2 separate regions of the Homo sapiens genome follow, and region 2 is linked to region 1. Evidence: promoter capture Hi-C in 16 types of primary human blood cells and fetal thymus (Javierre and others, 2016). All regions are on one chromosome and are shown on one strand. The core of a region is centred on a gene start or on the middle of the fragment in contact, and the rest is flanking DNA. Distances in the headings are between cores, read along the strand shown. Region 1 holds the start of MPPE1 (metallophosphoesterase 1). Region 2 overlaps NDUFV2 (NADH:ubiquinone oxidoreductase core subunit V2).

Region 1 (6,860 bases), core at 255-2,754:
CATTGCACTCCAGCCTGGGCAACAAGAGCGAAACTCCGTCTCAAAAAAAAAAAAAAAAAATTTATCTTTGAACTTTTCAATTTGTATTTATTTATTTATTTATTTTTAGAGATAGGGTCTCACTCCACCGCCCATTGTAAATCAAAAATGAAATCCTAAGACCCCTCAACCATCTGCATGGACCCCACCAAGGGCATTCCAGAGTTAACCTTGTTTTAGGTTGTTTTAAGCAAAACTTGTTTAGGCCATGATGGGAAGTGGGGGTGGAACTTGACACATTTCATCCTCCTCCCTTTTAGAATTCAGGAAAAGCAGACCAGCATTTAACATGCTGGACACTTAACTTACCTGGAGGCTTCATCTGCATGATAAAACTTCAGTCTCCACAGCCTCTTATTGTAACCCAAACATTCCTTTCCATTGATAATAAATCTTTCAACCAAATGCCAATCAGAAAATTTTCAATCTACCTATAACCCGGAAACCCCCGACCCACCCACCTCCTCAGCTGTCATACCTTTATGGACCGAACCAATGTACATCTTAATCTTACATGTATTTGACTGATGACTCATGGCTCCCCTAAAATGCATAAAACCACACTGGGCCCCGACCACCTTGCGTACGCGTTCTCAGGGTCTCCAAATGGCTGTGTCACCAGCCATGGTCACTCATATTTGGCTCAGAATTAATCCCTTCAAATATTTTATAGAGTTTTGACTTTTTGTCAACCGCAGGCTGCGTCACAGCTCGCTGCAGCCCCAAACTCCTGCGCTGAAGCGATCCTTTCCCCCACAACTTCTCGAGTAGCAGGGACTTCAGGTGCGTGCCACTACACCTGGCTTTTTTTTTTTTTTTTTTTGGTACTTTTGTTGTTATGGTGGGGGCGGGGGACTTGCTATGTTGCCCAGGCTGGTCTCGCATCTCTGGGATCAAGCCATCCTCCCACTTCAGCGTCCCAGAGTGCTGGAATTACAGGCCTAAGCAACGGCACCCAGCCTATCTTTTAATTTTTAACTTCAAAGTTATCGTTAAAAATCTAATCCCCCCAAAATATGAAAAAAATACTTAATATGCACTGACCTGTAGTTTTTCTCTAATTCACTATCTTAAATATATTAATTGCAATCTCATCAACTGCGACTTGCATTTGAAATTTTCCACCTTAAACGGTATTTTTTGATAAGATGGATTTTTTAAAAAATCTACACCAGCAAACTAGAGTGAGAGACCCCTGCAAAGTAATACATGGGCCTTAAGTCACCGAGATTTTCCAGCAAATAATTTGCAGAATGCTGTTTTTCCTAGGTTAACTTGCAATCCTAACACGGAAGGAGGTTCCGTTTTTAGAAGTTTAAATGTTGTCACACGGGCGCAAGAATACATACAACAGCCATGCTTTCCAGCTCTGCGCACAACGCCAGGCAGATGGGGAGCACCGGGCGGTGCGGGAGCCCTTTCACCAGGGCAGGGTGGCTTCGGTGGCCGAGGGACCCGGGAACTGCAGCCGGAGCCGGCGCGCACCCAGCCAACTTCCTGTTTCCGCGGTAGCGCGCGGGCCTGTCACTGAAGCCCCGCCCCGGCGACCTCAGGCGGGCGGGGAAGACCGAGTCTTCCCGGAGCCGCTTCGTCCGCCCGGCGCCGGAGTCCCACGGCCGGTTTGCGGAAGCGGGTCGTCTGAAGGGGCCCGGCGGGTGGCTCCCGGGTCTCCGCGGCCTGTGATCCCCAGAGCGGACAACCGCAGCTGGGGCTCCGTGCGCAACTCGGAGTAAAGGCCGGAACCTACGCTCGGCGGCCGCGTCCCGGCCCCTAGCGCCCTCCGCGAAGTGCCTGGCAGGCTCGGCAGTCTGAGTGTCGCGTTACAGAGTCCCCTGGGCAGTCACCGCTGAAGGGCGGGGGACGCGGGAAAGGCATTTTGGGGACACAGGAGAGCTGCGAGGGCGAAGCACGGGCGAGCTGTCGTTAGGGCCCAGGAAAGGCCCGTTGCGGGGCGCACAGGCGGGCAGGGGAACTCGCGCCCCGCGCCGCGCGCCCGGCCTCCTGACGCCAGGGCCGGCTTCTGAGCACAGCCACCGCGGCGGCCGGGGGCGGCCACTGCTCCCCGCGAGCCCGCTTCCGCGCCCCAGAAGCCCCCAGAGCCCGCGTCCGAGCTCCAGGCCTTGGAGGAGCCAGGCGGGCAGCTGACAGCCCCGGAGCCGCTCCCGGGTTCCGCGCGCGGTGGCAGCCAGGCCGTGCCTCCCCGTTCCCCTCCCGCGCCGCGCTGCCCCTCCGGGACCCACCAGGCCTGGCTGCGCCTCTTTCCTCTCCTCCCCCGGAGCCTTGGAAAGTGCCCTCCAGAGATGTGCTTAGGAAGTGTGTGATGAATAAAGGAGACAATCAGGATAACTATAATATTTATTATGCACTTGCTTTTTTCTCACTGATGTTACTAATTTTAATGGTGTAGCGCGGCGCGTTCCAGTTTTCTAAGTGCTCTCACATCCGTTCAAAAAATCCTCAAAATAAGCCTGTATATTAAAAGCAGGAGCCATTATTTCATATTTCAAGAAGTAAACATGCTCAGAGTAATAATCCACATAGAGCCTTCCAACCAGTCAATTCTGGTACATTTTCACAAATCTATGAGTGTGGTTAATACACGGAGATGTGGTTTGAGGAATTATATAGGACACAGCCAGCAAAATGCCTGGTATACAATAAGTATGCGGTAAATGGTTATTATTATTAAGAATATTGTAATATCTTCAGATATGATCAGGTGAACAACTTTGACATAATCGAAACTGGGACAGCCTGATTCCATAAACACACTAATATGGCACCGTGGATTGTTTGCAGCCTCACCTCTAAAGTATTCTCTCTGACTAACAAAGAAAGGGAAACTAGAACCAGTTAAGCTTATAACACTAATCACAGGCTAAAGGAAATACAGGGGCCAAATGAACCCATTAGATTACACCACCAGGAAGTAATCTGCCAAATCCAGAATGTGGGAAATTCTACAAACCAAATGACCCAATTTCTTTTTTCAAAAATAAATGTTCAGAGGCTGAAGTGGGAGGATTGCTTAAGGCCAGAGTTCAAGGCTGTAGTGAGCTATGATCACAGCTGTGAATAGCCACTGCACTCCAGGCTGGGCAACACAGCTAGACCCCCCATGTCTTTAAAAAAAAGAGGGTGGGGGGACCTTGAGAGACACATTAGCCAAATGCAATTTGTGGACCTTGTTTGGGTCATGATTAAGACAAACAAACTTTTACATAAATAAATGGCATTTTTAAAAACATTGGCGGCCAGGCGCGGTGGTTCTTGCCTGTAATGCCAGCACTTTGGGAGGCCGAGGCGGGCAGATCAGGAGGTCAGGAGATCAAGACCATCCTGGCTAACACGGTGAAACCCCGTCTCTACTAAAAAAAAAAAAAAAAAAAAAAAAATTAGCCGGGTGTAGTGGCAGGTGCCTGTAGTCCCAGCTACTCGGGAGGTTGAGGCAGGAGAATGGTGTGAACCCGGGAGGCAGAGCTTGCAGTGAGCCCAGATCACGCCACTGCACTCCAGCCTGGGCGACAGAGTGAGACTCCATCTCAAAAAAAAAAAAAAAAATTGGGAAACTTAAACATGGACTGAATGTTAGGTGACATTAAATAACTTCAGGTAATTTTATTACGATAATACCATAGTGGCTATGATTTTTAAAGGCCTCAGAGAAACATATTAACATATTTACAGGCAAATTATATTATTTCTGGGATTTGCTTTAATAAAATTTAATAACAAATTCCTGGAGTTTTTTAGAGAACAAAGTGAGAGATAGGAGAAACAATATTGGCAAAGTGTTTAATGTTTAAGCAAGGAGATGGGTACATGGGCATTGTGCTAGGCCTAATTATGCCCCCCAAACATGCCCACATTCTAATCTTCAAACCTGTGAACAAGTTACCTGACATGGCAAAAGGGGCTTTGCAAGTATGCGATGAAGAACCTTGAGATGGGAGATGATCCTGGATTATCCCAGTGAGCCCAGTCTCATTGGGTCCTTCCGAGAACCTTTACCTGCAAATGAGAATTGGAAAGAGACGTAACACTGGAAGGAAGTTCAGAGAGATTCAACCTGACAAGGATGTGGCCGCTGGTGCTGACTCCGGAGATGGAGGAAGGGGCCACAAGCCCAGGAATGCCACAGGTGGCCTCTCAAGGTGGAAAAGGCAAGGAATGAATGATCCTGCAGATGCTCAGGTGTCCTGCCATCACCTGAGTTTTAGCCCAGTGAGCCCCGTGTGGGCTCCTGACCTACAGGACTTGTACGGTAGTAAATTTGGGTTGTTTTAGGTCACCAAAGTGGTAGTAATTTGTTACAGCAGCCATAGAAAACTAATACAAGCATTTGCTATATTTCTCTCTATGTTTTTGTAAGTTTAAGATTTTTTTCTGCTGGGTGCGGTGGCTTACGCCTGTAATCCCAGCACTTTGGGAGGCCAAGGAGGGCAGATCACAATGTCAGGAGTTCGAGATCAGCCTGGCCAATATGGTGAAACCACGGCTCTACTAAAAATACAGAAATTAGCCAGGAGCGGTGGCATGCGTCTGTATTCCCGGCTACTCGGGAGGCTGAGGCAGGAGAATCACTTGAACCCAGGAGGTGGAGGTTGCAGTGAGCCGAGATCGTGCCACTGCACTCCAGCCTGGGTGACGGAGTGAGATTCTGTCTAAAAAAAAAAAAAATTGTAATAAAATATTTATTAAGTCCATAAAACATAAACCTAAGAAATACATTTTTAAGGTAATTCATTTACACCTGAAGTGTAATCTGACCAACCATAGAATTATACCATGCATTTTAATTTCCAAAAGAATTATATGTCATAAATCCCTTTTTAAAAAGCATTGTTGAGTATGGTTAGTAAAATAATGTTAATTTTCAAAGTCACAGATATAATAAAGCATCACGGATATAATAAAGCATGGCATGACCTATTCCTGACTTTATTTATTTATTTATTTTTGAGACAGAGTCTTACTTTGTCACCCAGACTAGAGTGCAGTGGCTCATCTTGGCTCACTGCAACCTCTGCTTCCCGGGTTCAAGCCATGCTCCTGCCTCAGCTTCCTGAGTGGCCGGGATTACAGGCACCCGCCACCGCACCCAGCTAATTTTTGCATTTTTAATAGAGACAGGGTTTTGCCATGTTGGCCAGGCTGGTCTCGAACTCCTAACCTCAAGTGATCCGCCCACCTCGGCCTCCCAAAGTGCTGGGATTACAGGTCTGAGCCACCGCGCCTGGCCCCATTCCTAACTTTAGAATTAGTTTATCTATACCGATTGTTATCAAAATCTGCATATTGACATGACTTTTAAGATGCTGACATTTATAAAGGTAATTTTCCTTCTAGCATATATTAATTTCAGGAAACAGATAACACAATTAATAAAATATATAAAACAGAATCGTTAAAGAAAATAATCTTCCCAAATATGTAAAAGTAGAATAGTTTAAAAAACAGTACCGAATATTTTAATGTAATTTCTAATTTTCAATTAATGAATATTAGGCATTTTCTATTATATGGATAAATTACCCACATTTTGTCAAATTTGCTAAAACAGTCCGGGCGCGGTGGTGCACACCTGTAATCCTAGCACTTTGGGAGGCCAAGGCGGGCAGATCACTGGAGGTCAGGAGTTTGAGGCCAGCCTGGCCAACATGGTGAAACCCCATCTCTACAAAGAATACAAAAAAATTAGCCAGGCGTAGTGGTGGGCGCCTGTAATCCTAGCTGCTCCGGAGCCAGAGGAAGAGGCAGGAGAATCACTTGAACTCTGGAGGCAGAGGTTGCAGTGAGCTGATATCGCGCCATTGCACTCCAGCCTGGGCAACAAGAGTGAAATTCCGTCTCAAAAAAAAAAATTGCTAAAACAGATAACATTTATTAAAGTCCATAGTTTTAACTAATTTTATTAGTTGACTTTTAATGCCATTAACCAATTTTTTTTTTTTTGAGACCAAATCTGGTTCTGTCTCCCAGGCTGGAATGCAGTGGCATGATCTCAGCTCACTGCAACCTCCACCTCCTGGGTTTAAGGGATTCTCATGCCTCAGCATCCGGGGTAGCTGGGATTACAAGTGTGTGTCACCATACCTGGCTTTTTTTTTTTTTTTTTTTTTTAGAGACAGGGTTTACCCATGTTGGCAAGGCTGTTCACAAACTCCTGACCTCAAGTGATCTGTCTGCCTCAGCCTCGTAAAGTGCTAGGATTACAGGCTTGAGCCACCACACCCGGCCTACTTGGGGTATTTGGTTTTGTTTCTTGAGACAAGGTTTCATTGTGTTCCCGGGGTGGCCTCAAACTCCGAGGTTTAAGTGATCCTCCCATCTTAGCCTCCTAAGTAACTGGGACCAGAGGTGTTCCCCAATGTGCCGGGCTAACTGGTTTTAATTCTACAGAGCACTCTTTAAATCACTGTTTCCTCTCTAAACATCTTCAGTTTCATATTGTACTTCACTGTCTTGTAAACTACTTTTCTGTGGGAGCAGCTACAGTGAATAACATTGTGGTATACATAGTGGTATACATGGTTGTGATATACATTGTTGTGTTGTGGTAACATTGTGGTATCTTTGCCGCCTTGTATTTAAAAAATCCTGGCTTACACTAAGGGAGCCTTGGAAACTCCCAATACTTTGGGAGGCCGAGGTAGATGGGTCACCTAAGGTCAGGAGCTCAAAACCCAACATGGCAAAACACCATCACTGCTTAAAAAAAGTAATAAAAAATTAGCCCAGTGTAATGACACACACCTGTAGTCTCAGCTCTCCTGGAAGCTGAGGCAGGAGAATCGCTTGAACCCAGGAGGTGGAGGTTA
Region 2 (6,939 bases), core at 554-3,053, 2.8 Mb before region 1:
TTGTGGGACTGCCTCCTTTGTTCCAGACATTATGCTTGTAATAATTGTGCCTAATTATATCAACTCCTACTTCAGAGACATTACACAATTAACTGCACTTCATAATACCTAGATCTTTTTCTGTTCACTATTTATCCAGGTTGCTCCCGTCCCATACCTGTGTTACATTAATTACTTTCCTTTCAGTTATGAACTTGGATTTTCACTTTTAAACAAACCCTTATTCCATGTATGTGTTCAATCACTCAAAATTCTCTCTTAATACTAGCAAATGTTCTCATGGTTTTAGTCATAATCCCTCAAATTTTTTGTTTATGTATATAAATTTTTTCTTCCCTCAGCACATTTGGAGTTTTTGATGTCCATACGGTATTCTAATGTTTTAAAACAGCTGTGATGTGCTCTTACTCCCGTTTTAAAATATTTTTCTTAAGCTTTATTATAAATAACAATTCCCTGAAGTAGAATTACTAAGAGGGTATGAGTGGTTCTAGAGTTTGCTCTCTAAAACTACTAATAATACCCTACTTAATGAGAAAATGAGGTCAGTTCAGGATAACTTAAGTTTAGTAAATGCTAGCTGGCCCCTGTTGACCATTACTTTCTTTTCTAAGAAACGTATACTGTTCTTAACAACCTGAGCCTATAGAATTGAATTTGCTTAAAGAGTGTTGGCATTTTCTTCCTAATTCCTCACTTTCTTGGGTATACCCCTTTTTTTAGGAGGTAAATCATTTCCCTGGTGAAAAATCATTCTCCTTTATGGAGGCAACTGAAGTAAAACCTTTAGTCATCTATCATTACAGTATCTTTCTTAGCTAGTGCTCCTATCCCTTACTTATTCTTGCTTTAAATAGACACTGTCCCCCCAAAAAGTACAAATTTCATAATATTTTCCACAAGCTTCATCTGCTTTTTAGGATTCAGGTATTTTAAAATAAATTCATGCTATTCTTAGGTTTGTACTTCAGCCCATAACTTCTTTCACCTTTTGGGTACTCTAAAGAATATCTCAAGTGCAGATTTCCTTGTGAAATCCACTTGGGTTCTTTAGATGGCCCCTCTCTTCTGATTAGATGTTTTGAATTCTATAGTCATAACTTTGGTGTTGGGCTTCCTCCCCCCCACTCCTCCCCTCACCCGAGATGGAGTCTTGCTCTGTCACTTAGGCTATAGTGCAGTGGTGTGATCTCGACTCACTGCAACTTCTGCCTCCCAGGCTCAAGCGATTCTCCTGCCTCAGTCTCCCGAGCAGCTGGGACTATAAGAACGTGCCACCACCATGCCCAGCTAATTTTTGTATTTTTAGTAGAGACGGGGTTTTACCATGTTGGCCAGGGTGGTCTCGAACTCCTGACCTCAAGTGATCTGCCTGCCTTGGCCTCCCAAAGTGCTGGGATTACAGGCTTGAGCCACCACGCCCGGCCACTTTGGCGTTTAGAATCTTCTGCTTTGCTTCTTGTGAACTGTGGGATCTATGGTTCATATTAATCTAGTATTACTCTCCTGCCACACAAATTGATACCTGCTTTGTCTACTTTGTTATGTCACATTACATTAAATACTCAACAGTAATTTTTTTCACAAATTTTTTTGAGTGCCTGCTGTGTGTCAGGCATTATTTTAGGTTATGAATACAATTATGAACAAGATAAAGTTCTCATATATCTTCTAGTGATGGAGACAGATGACTAGTGTAATATGTGAGTGATAAAAAGGCTACACAATAAAATGTAGCAGGTGTTAGGGGATAGATAGGGAGTAAATTTAGTGAGGAGAGGCCGCTTAGAGGTGGTAACATTTGAGCCATGACCTGAATGAAGAGCTAGAGGGAACCATGTAAAGAGCTGAAGGAACAATGTTCCAGGGAGGGGAAAGAGGATGTATCAGGGTCCTGGAAGAAAAGTAAGGTAACAGTATGGCTGCAGTGAGGTGCTCAAGCAAGAAAGCAGTGGAAGGGGTCAGAGGAGATAAGGGCCCAGATAAGTAATCTGGGCTGAATCTTAAATATAATAAAAACTGTTGGAATGTTTTCAGTAGGGAATGGAATGAGCAATCTTAAAATACTGCCATAGTTGCTATGTGGAGATTAGAATTTAGTAGATATGTGGGACTAAGGATTTATGAGTGATTTTCAGCTTTTTGGCTTGAGCATCTCTGAGGTTCCTTTACCGAAAATAGAGAAGATTTGTGGTAGGGCAAGTTTGGGGAAGAAAAGTCAAATTTTGTTTTAGACATAGTAAGTTTGAGATGCCTGTTAAGACATCCATGGTATGATGCTGATAGGTAGATACGAACCTGGAATATAGGGAATAGGTTAGGGCTGGAAACACAAATTGGGGATTCATCAGTTACTAAGGGTAGTATTTAAAGTTATAAATCTGGATGACATTATCGGGGTGAAATTAAAATCTGTTATTTGTAATATGAGGTACTATAACATTGTATTTTAACAATAAGCAGGAACTAAGTACTCAGTTAAGCATTTTCAACAACATCTGATAATAATAGGGATGTTACTTATCAGTAATCATGAATAGTTTTTCGCTGAGATTTTCTTGACAGTGTTCTGGATTTGAGCCAAATACTTCAAAATTATTCGTGTCCGAATCTCTTTTTTTACTTACTACCTCTTATTTAAAAAGCAGACAAAAGTCTACTTAGGTTTCAATAATTGCAAGCATCCACCAATGCTGTATTATATAAAGCTTGTATTTGGACATAGCAATACTAGAATGTCTTGTCAGCATATGAAAACAAGAACTTTTCACTTTACTTACCCAATATCTTGGATATATAGGATAATGACAGAGACTGGGATAGCAATAACCATAATATAGTTATAGTTATTCTAAATTAACCAAAGCTGTCTAATTCTTTTTTATTGGTATTTTAATAATAAATATCTCTGCTCTTTGAAAGAGGTACTAATTGTGCGTCTCTGTAATGAAAAACCGAGAGGAATTAAACTGGTTCAATAGTAACTGATTCCTGAGTACCACTGCCAGGTCTTACCCTGGCCAAAATTAGTAAAAGACTGATGTCTATATGTGGTTCAAAACTGCTTTTGTATTATCGTTGGTGAATGACCACTGAAAATATTAAAGCAGTGGTAAGATAATACAGTTGACTCTTGAACACCATGGGCGTTAGGGACATTGATTGCTCATGCAGTTGAAGATCTGTGTGTAACTTTTGACTCCTCCAAAACTTTACTCATAGCCTGCAGTTGTCTGAAGGCCTTAACAAATAACATAGTCAGCACATATTTTGCATGTTGTCTGTATTATATACTGACTGTATTCTTACCATAATCTAGAGAAAAGAAAATGTTATTAAAATCATAATGAAAATATATTTACTCTTCATTAAGTGGATCATAGTACAAGTCTTATCATTTTCATGTTGTATAGGCTGAGGAAGAGGAGGGGTTGGCCTTGCTGTCTCAGAGGTGGCAGAGGCTGAAGAAAATCCATGTACAAGTGAACCCATGCAGTTCAAACCTGTGTTGTTCAGGGTCAGCTGTAGTCTCTTAATCTTGACATTACTAAATATTTTTGTGCTGAGATTGTTCTTATTTTCAGTGAATTTAAAGTACTGAAAAATTCTAAACTTGTTTTCAGGTTACTAATAGGTAGAAATTTTTTAGTATGGATTAGTTTATAACTCATTTTAAATCCAACTTTAATTCTTCATATTTAGAGCTAGGCTACAGTTCCAATGCGGTTGGTAGATGACTCTAGACAATAACATCACTTTTGGTTTTTTATACTAAAAGTAGGGACAGTGCTGGATATATCTCAGCAATAGTAAAAAGCACTAAACTTTTATAAAGTAATTTGTCTATGTAAAGTACTTTAAGCCATGAAAGTTTACAGAAAGGCCAAGTTTTCTAGAAAGCAAATAAGTTAAAATGGTACACATACGTATAGTGTTGGAATGACTGACGAACCATACTTTTTAAATTTTAGTGAAGATGTAATTATTAGATGGCATTTTAAGCATGAGATATCAGGAAAATCATTTTTTGTTTAGTAAGTGAAAAACACTAGTGTAAATTGTGGCTGTCAGGTGAGTGGATAGGGCTAGCTCACTGCCTCTTGAGTGTTCTGAGGCATGTTTACAGATGAAAGGGGGGGTTACATTTTTAGTAGATTAAACAAAATTATAGGCTTTATTGGAGGATTTTTGTAGCCTTTGTAGTATTTTAAGGTACACTGTGTGAATGGCGAGGAAGGGAGGTTTACAGCCAGACATACTGGATCACTGGGACTCCCGTTTTTCTATACAATGCCATGGGATTGTAATTTTATGGAACAAACTTTAGGAAACTCTAGACCAGATTATTTTTAAAATTACTTCCATATATAAAATTCTATAATCCTGTGAAGAACTCAGGAAGTACTTACGATTAATTCTCCCATTTATTGTTCCGGAAACTTCAGTTTTTATAATCTTCCTAAATTGATCCTTTATGTTGATAAACAGTGTCGATATTAAGGAGCTCATTAATTTTGGAAGATCCATATCTATCCAAACTGGTAAGAGGCTTTAAGATAACAAATGCTCAGCTTTCAGGAGACGTCTAAAATGAAACTTTTAAATCATATTCCATTCTGATATTTGATCAAGAGAAAAGTTTTAGGCAGAAAAGAAGAGGTAGCTGAGCTTAAACCGTAAGAAGAAACCTAGTAAAGGTGAAGAAAGTTTCTCCAAAATAATTTCATTGACATTTAAAGAGCAGCAGTGGTGCCTATCAATAGGCAACATAAAAAATTACAGGCCGGGCACAGTGGCTCACCTGTAATCCCAGCACTTTGGGAGGTTGAGGCGGACAGATTGTTTGAGCCCACAAATTCAAGACCAGCCAGGGCAACATGGTGAGGTCTTGTCTCTACGAAAAATACAAAAATTAGCCAGGCATGGTGACGCACACCTGTAGTCCCAGCTACGTGGGAGGCTGAGGTGACAGAAGCACCTGAGCCTGGGAGGTTAAGACTGCAGTGAGCCATTATTGCATCACTGCATCCCAGCCTGGGTGACAAAGTGGGACCCTGTCTCAAAAATAATAAATAAATTTAAAAATTGCAAAATATAATACTGTTGTCTTTTTTTTAAAGTTAAGTATCATTTTGCTGCTTACTCTACAAGTTTCAGGCTCTTACAGTATACAATGACTGCTTTTTTATCTGTTTTTGTAGTGAACAAGACCTATAATCCAAAGATATTAACTAAGTTCTGACTTTGTAGATAATTGTTCATTACTTAGTAACTTGTATTATATGCTGTGACATCTTGAAAGATCTTATATTATGTGGTGTCACTTTCCTGGCTCCAATAAAAAATGATTCCCTAGGGCTCTAAAGAACAGACTTAAAGGATTGATGACACAATGTGAAGGGCAAAGCCAGAGGGGGTTGAAAAGATATAAACTGAACAAGTTCTTTCTTTAGGTAAATCTGTGGCAGGAACAGGTAAATTAGCAAAGCCAGGGAATAGTGGTGGAGGGGTGACATACAGTAAGTCTGAGCTGGGCTCTAGAAACAGAGGTCAGACAGGGCAGAGGTGAGCAATTACCTGGGAAAGCGTGTGTGGGGTTGACAGACAGGTTCTTCTCCCTCTATGCTGCCTGTCTTCATAAATTGCTCCATCAGGACTTGTTCTTGTTTGCTTCCTTTTGTGGCTGCTATGGCCATCCTGGTTTGGAAACTTTTTTCAGAAAATTACTACTACTAATATAGTCTTTATAATACATAAATACAAACTGATTTTGACTTCGCTGCTTCTAAGGGACATTGTCCCAAATCATATTTCCTCAAGGAATCCAGTTTCTATTTCCAAATACAATGTATAAGTGTGTGTATTCCCTCTATTCACTGTGACTGTGGATCTTGATCTAAATAAAATTCAACTCTAAAAAGAAATACAGTGCTCTAGTTTATTAAAACATGGTTTTTAAAAATGTTCTCTGGGGTTGGGTATTTTTGCCGTAGTTCTTTGCTTTGATTCTTGGGTAGATGCTGAATCTCCCAAATTTGGTTTCTCTAACTGTAAAATAAAGCCAGTATCACTTGTCTTGTGGCATCGTAAGGATTCAATGAGCTAGTGTATGCATACTGCTCAGTAAATAGGAACTATTATTAGGGCTACTTTTGTATTTTTTATGTTTATGGTGAAGTCTGATGTTTTTCCATATTTAAATTTAGGAAGAGAAAATCTTGCATCAGTTGAAATGTTTGAATTAAATAATCTATGCTAGTTCTTAGGGTAAAAATAGTTACTTAACTGGGCTCTTGTGAGGTAACCATTACAATTTAAGTAAAAATTTACAAATGTTAATCATTAATAGTTTAATATTACTTTTCATTTCAGGAGTGGACGCTTCTCTTGTGAGCCAGCTGGAGGTCTTACCTCTTTGACTGAACCACCCAAGGGACCTGGATTTGGTGTACAAGCAGGCCTTTAATTTATATTGAACTGTAAATATGTCACTAGAGAAATAAAATATGGACTTCCAATCTACGTAAACTTATTTGTTTATTCTGCTCTGTGTACATCCTCATGCTAACCGTAGCAACTTGCAGCTCTAAGTATTATGTCATAATGACAGAGGACCATTTTAAAGTCTTCTATCTATGGCTGTGAAGACATCATTATATAATCTAGTTAACAGTTACTCTAGTGTCACCCATTTTCAATTTCCAGATCGCTTTTATCAAGATCAGGTTACTGTGAAGTAAAAATTTGGTTAAATTACAAATGTTTTGCTTTCCCATCTTTAGCCACAGCCAAGTTTTAAGTTAACATGATCTTTCTATAAACTTTGTCAGTGCTCCCTTTAAACATTATTTAAAACACATAATTGTTACTGTATTTCCAACTGGTAAGACCTCAAGCACACTGTAGGTTTAAGGAGGATATGGTAGTTGTCTCTAGAAG

Evidence for each region. Contacts are between HindIII fragments. The CHiCAGO score rates a contact against its expected background, and 5 or more counts as called.
Region 2: a fragment that was not itself captured here is called in contact with the fragment with the promoter of MPPE1 in region 1 in 1 of 17 cell types (neutrophils); the score reaches 6.2 in neutrophils.

The regions. Positions count from the first base shown.
Region 1 is chr18:11,906,813-11,913,672 of GRCh38, forward strand. It overlaps MPPE1 (metallophosphoesterase 1), which reads right to left and starts at 1,505. Exons shown (of 11, transcript NM_023075.6): 1 at 1,389-1,505. It overlaps LOC101927511 (a long non-coding RNA gene), which reads right to left. Exons shown (of 4, transcript XR_007066296.1): 4 at 3,737-4,050. RefSeq lists a silencer at 1,898-2,297. The HindIII fragment of the contact is 5,797 bases long and covers 1-2,895 here.
Region 2 is chr18:9,127,814-9,134,752 of GRCh38, forward strand. It overlaps NDUFV2 (NADH:ubiquinone oxidoreductase core subunit V2), which reads left to right. Exons shown (of 8, transcript NM_021074.5): 8 at 6,373-6,528. The coding sequence ends at 6,466. NDUFV2-AS1 (NDUFV2 antisense RNA 1) reads right to left here. Exons shown (of 3, transcript NR_110772.1): 2 at 5,578-5,697. Among named protein-coding and RNA genes, the nearest start is that of NDUFV2-AS1, 5.4 kb to the right of the region's middle. The HindIII fragment of the contact is 1,805 bases long and covers 902-2,706 here.